Linked DNA regions of Homo sapiens: region 1 is linked to region 2. Evidence: promoter capture Hi-C in 16 types of primary human blood cells and fetal thymus (Javierre and others, 2016). All regions are on one chromosome and are shown on one strand. Each heading gives the region's core, a stretch centred on a gene start or on the middle of the fragment in contact. The rest is flanking DNA. Distances are from core to core; before and after follow the strand shown. Region 1 holds the start of ADAMTS6 (ADAM metallopeptidase with thrombospondin type 1 motif 6). Region 2 holds the start of IPO11 (importin 11).

Region 1 (2,700 bases), core at 165-2,664, 3.1 Mb before region 2:
CCTCCGGCGTAGGAAGAAAAAAAAAAATCAAATGGGCAATAATGTTAGCAGAAGCTTGATATTTAAGAGCTGGTATTCAGAAAGATCATCCTTCCTACCCCCTTCCCTCCGGTCCAGTTCTCCTTTCTGGTTCTCACCATCGGAAATTGACTTGGCATTAACTAAGGGCTGGAATTTCAAGGCGTCAATTTTCCCCTGCCCCCAACCTCGGAAACTCTTAAACAGCTCCCTATTCTACACTCAATGGTAGAGACAGATAAATGATGCAGCAGATTACACCGTTGAAAGGCAACATTTGTCCTGAGCTATTTTCACATTTTTTCCTGTTTCCGATGTATGTGCCAGACTTTGTTTGCTTGCTTAGGACATGGAAAACACTGGGCATTTTCTCCCCAGCGGCTTTCATTCTCAGCAAATGAAAGTGAAAGTGCTACATTGTAGCGGTATTTTATCCTTAAAGTCTGGACTGGCAGCTTGTGTGTAGGGGGGAGGGAGGGTGGGATTGGGAAGGTTGAAGAACCAGTTTTGAGGTTTTGTTTGTTTATCTTGAGATCGCAGCAGGGTTCCTGTTTTTTTCCCTTCCTTTTTTTTTTTGGTGGTGGGGTCCTACTTCGGATTTATTTTCATTTGGGCAGTCATTGAAGTTTCATTCAATGGACTGACTTAAAAAAATACACTCCACTTGTGGCTTTTCCCGGTTGCACTTTAAAACACCATCCAGTCTCACCCTCATCTGGAAATAATGCAAGCTTCTCTCTTCCTTCCCCCGCTCCCTCCTCCCCTACTTTTTTTTTTTCTTCTTCTTCTTCTTTTAAAGCTCCACATAACCTGAAGTCGATAATCAAATGGAAAATGTGCTGGTATTAGTTTACTTTAGTTTACTTTCCCTTTTGGTGCTAACCTTACTTGCTGAAGTATGTATAAAACACAGGCATTTTGTACACTTGTAGCTACTGAGTCTTGTGCCTGCTGCACGAATCTAAGCTTTAAGTTTCCTCAGAGGCACTGTTTGCGTGCAAGTTTTAACATTTTGATTGTGTGGATTTTAAAAATAAAATTACACGGAGAATGACACCAGAGATCTTAACAGTGACATTAGTCCATCTAAAGTCATTCATCCTTCTCCCTCCCCCTTCATTTTTCCAAGAAACAACTAATAGCAAACCAGGCTAGAATTTCTAAGAGAGTTTAGAGGAGGAGGAGGAAAAGAGGCGGAATGAGATAGGACAGAGAGGTTAGAGAGGCCAGAATTTCTCTCATTCACAGTGTGGAAAAGTTGACATTGTCTAAGCCCTTCTGAATGGCTGGTAGTTGGTTACCCCGATTGTACCTCTACCTCCCCTCCCCCTCCACGTGACGACCCAGGACACATGCGCACCCGACGCAGCCCAGGCACATCTGCAGACTGACGTCAGTGTGCTCTGCCTCCGAGGAAAAGCTGCCAAAATTTTCTCCTGCTGCAATTCAAGTTGGCTGGGGGCCGGTAGTGAGATCTAGGGCTACTTCAACAAAACTTTGCTGCCCTTCCTGCTCCTCTTGTCTTCTTTTCTCCTGATACCTTTTGATGCTCTGCACATGTTATTTGCATAGCAAAGGCACTAAGCTTTCCAGGAAGAGAGGGCACCACTTCCACCCCCAATAAGTCTTTTTTCCCGTCTTTTCTTTCTTTTCCTTTCCTTTTTTGGGGGGTGGGGAGGGAGAGAAAGGGGGTTTGCAAAGGCAGCATCTCAGAGTGATAGCCTAGATGTATTGAAGGCATCTCTTATTCTGCCAAATCGGAAAGTCAGTTCTCTAAAGCCCGGGTTAGCCAGACCATAGGGTTTTATTCTGGCTGCAGAATAACTGGCTGGTGTGGCTTTGCAAAGGGGGGCAAAAAATAAAAAAATAAAAAAAATTAAAAAAAGTTAGAGAGGAGAGGGAGTACGTGAGTCGTCCAGTGCAATCTCTATTGTCTGAAACTTACTTTTTATCAGAATTTGAAGATGAAAACGGTAAGGAAGACTTAACAATATTCAATGGAGCTTTTTTTTTTTAAACCAACAACTTGTGCTTTGCTTGTCTTCCGAATAACGCTTAGAAAACTTTTTTTCTGTGTGTGTGTTTTTTTTTTTTTTTTTAATGGCAATGAGTGAGCTTGACTGAACTCATTTTACAAATAGATATCTTTTTAACTCCAGACTTGTCGGGGGTTGTAGAATTCTGGGACTTGCAGTTATTTTATGATGCAAAAAAAATACGTTTATTTTATGAATATACAATACATGTTTTGTGAAGTGGACTTGATTATGATTATTGTAATCTTTTAACTGATCACCAAATAGTAATCCGGAAGGTAATAATGATGTGTGTGTTTTAAATTGATTTCCAGTTTTCTTACAGAAAAGTCTTATGCATTTTGTAGTTTCATGTCAGTGTCGTTAAGTCTTCAGACAAGTGCATATTTTATGCCTGGGCTCAGAGGGTAGCATTAATGTGCTAGCTGTAGCCCCGATGCTCTAGGACATGTTAAGCTCTTAATAGGCTAATCAAAGAGATGGAAACGTGTGTTTTTGATTTACTTTTGGCCACTTGGGACGTGCTAGACTCATAACCCTCCGGAGCCTTGTTTATCGGGGTAGGTCTGTATATATGGTGTATGGGACCAAAGTTCAGGGATTGAGGAGGGAGAGTGAGAGTGCAGGAATGGGGTATTGGGAAGCC
Region 2 (2,700 bases), core at 154-2,653:
ATGTGTGACCTTATGCAAGGCACTTACCTTTCTGGGCCTCAGTTTCATCAGACTGGATAATCAGCATAAGATCACCTCAGATTAAAATAAATGATGCTATAAATTTTTATACCGGTTTGTGCATTACCTCAGTGTTCTTCAACTGTTACCAACCAAAGTAGTGCATCTCAAGATTTATTGAACATTCCTTTCATCTAGATAACTTGTTAAAATTGCAGATTTTGATTCAGCAGCTCTGGATTGAGCCTGAGATCATGCATTTCTAATAAACTCCCAGGTGATGCTATATACCACAATTTGAGTAGCAAGGGTAAAGAACACTGATGCAACTTAAGCTCTACAAAGCTTATAACTGTGGACTTATCTGTAATAAGTCTGATAGTCAGCAAACCAAACACACTACAGACTCACACCAGCACTAAATGTGTTTTGCCATTCCTTAAACGCTCTGAAATTAACAGTCCCTATTTGAAGCTGATAAAGAAAGGAAAAAATATTACCATCAATAACACTAAATTAGAAGTGAGGTTACATACATACACACACACAGGTACAAATATATAACACAAAGGTCAAAATCCAAATAATCAAACATTACCTTACCCAAAATTTGAATATTTTTATTGCTGAGAAAAAAAAATTTTGTTTCTGGAAAAATCTTCAGTGTATTTTAATAGCCACATGCCTACAAGGATCATGCTGCATTCTGGTTTGATTCCAAATGCAAATATATTCAAACATCACAAAATCTAAAAATTGTTCTATTAATGATCAGATAATCTTTACATATTTGTTTAAAACCTCTAACATTACCACAGCCAAATGTGTTTGTGGTGAAAATTCTCTTTGGCCTTAGAAGTTCAACTAGGGCGGAGACCACCCTCCTACCCTGAGACTATAATATATGGCCACAAGCCACTACTATAATTAATTGTTTCTACTATACCCTGTGCTAGGTTACTGCAGAAACAGAGAAAATACCAGTCCCATCATAACCAAAAGGGAAAATGTTTCTACTTTCACCGAAATTTTCCTCAGTGATGAAAGATGTAATATGTGTCATGCAATGGATGTCTCCTATAGAAGAGTCACCCTGCCCTTAATCTGAAGCTCCTCTACTGAACAGAGAAGTTTGAAATAACATGAAAATGGAGGAAGAAAATTCCTATCCCAGGAGGGGGAAAAGCATTATGGCTACAAACTATTCTTCCTTCTGAAGAATAACCGAAATCTGAAGGGCACTACCGCGCTACAACTGAGCTCGTTTAAATTATGGAGGGGAGGAGGTATGTCAACTGCAACCTTGGCACTAGTAGGTAATTTACCAGTCCTTGCTATTTAGTCAAATCACTTTCAGATAGTACTTCTCTCATTCACCAACATGTCACAAAATAATAAAGAAAAAATGACACACGTAATAAGCAAAAGTAGTTTTGCTGAATCACAAATACCCCCAAATATAAATCTACAGGAGTCGCTGAGCTTGAGAATTGGCGGCCATACCTCTCCATGAAGCTCCTCTCTATAAACGGACAACTACCTTCACTTTTTCATTAAAAGCATGTAAGGGTCTAATGTTTAAAGCTATCACACTATTGCTATTAGCAACAAGGTCGCGTGCGCAGTAACAATGCACAACGGTCTTATACTCGAGATAACCACTTTATCTCAAAATTTGCACCACCTATCCCCCAAGGGCAAATGCATCACCCAGGTCCGCAACCGCGGTCACGATGGGTACACTCGCCTCTGCTCAGCCTAGCATACGGTCCCTCCCACCCCGCACCCTGATTGCTCCACTACCATGCTGCCCACTCCCGGGCTGCCTCGGCCAGCCCCCAGTTCCCCGGGTTCCTAAGGTTGCGCAAACAGCCAAGTCTGCAGGCCGCCCTTGCCTCGCTACCGTTATCCCTCATCTCCTGGTAGCCCCACTTTCCTCCCGCCTCTCGGGACTCGGGTGCCCAACCCACTCCCTTCCACTCCCGCGCGCTCGGTGGCTCTCGGGCCGGGGCCTCACCGTTTGGTTCGGTCGGGAATTGCCCGGCCCTCCCGCTCCCACTTCCCAACACGAAGTGGCGTCGGTTGGTCCCTCTCCCCACGCTGCCAGACCCCACGCCGCCGCCTACTGATGCCGAAAGCGGCTTCTAGGAACACGCCATGTTTGGCGTCGCAGCTCCAAACGACGCGGACGCGCGAAAACTACGTCACAGGAGACCAGCGCGCATGCGACCGGCAGAGAGAGAAGGCGATAGGCGAACGGCGGGAAGGGGAAGGAGGGGCTTTGTCTTTGAACCAAAAGGCGCGGGGTATCCAAATCAGTTGTGTGCGCTTGCGCAGTGCGCTTGCGCAGTATAAAGAGCCAGGAGTCCGGACTAGCCGGATCTGTCACCATGGAAACCATAGGTCTGGTTTCTCCGACTCCCAGGGAGCTCAATTGTTTCCTGCGTTGATTGAAGCTTCAATCAGAACCATTTCACGCTTTATATTCTAGATATCAATAGCGGATCCGTCACAGCAGAGAAGAGTTATTTAAAGAATCTTACTCCCATCAGTCCACCCTCCCTCCCGCAAATATTTATTTTTTAAGTTACCCAAATTGCTTGGCGCTTACTCCTGAGTAATAGCAAGAGTGGAAAAATGTAAAAGGACATAAATCCAGTTCTGCTTGCCTCTGCTAAAAGCTAGCATAGTCACCTAAAT

The links. The method cuts DNA at HindIII sites, captures the fragments that hold promoters and counts their contacts. A CHiCAGO score of 5 or more calls a contact.
Region 1: the fragment with the promoter of ADAMTS6 here is called in contact with a fragment that was not itself captured in region 2 in 1 of 17 cell types (fetal thymus); the score reaches 7.1 in fetal thymus.

Annotation. Positions count from the first base shown.
Region 1 is chr5:65,480,634-65,483,333 of GRCh38, reverse strand. It overlaps ADAMTS6 (ADAM metallopeptidase with thrombospondin type 1 motif 6), which reads left to right and starts at 1,414. Exons shown (of 25, transcript NM_197941.4): 1 at 1,414-1,991. RefSeq lists enhancers at 1,212-1,261, 1,035-1,534, 1,302-1,661. The HindIII fragment of the contact is 619 bases long and covers 987-1,605 here.
Region 2 is chr5:62,412,247-62,414,946 of GRCh38, reverse strand. It overlaps IPO11 (importin 11), which reads right to left and starts at 2,184. Exons shown (of 30, transcript NM_016338.5): 1 at 2,018-2,184. RefSeq lists a silencer at 1,694-1,743 and an enhancer at 2,074-2,263. The HindIII fragment of the contact is 2,111 bases long and covers 348-2,458 here.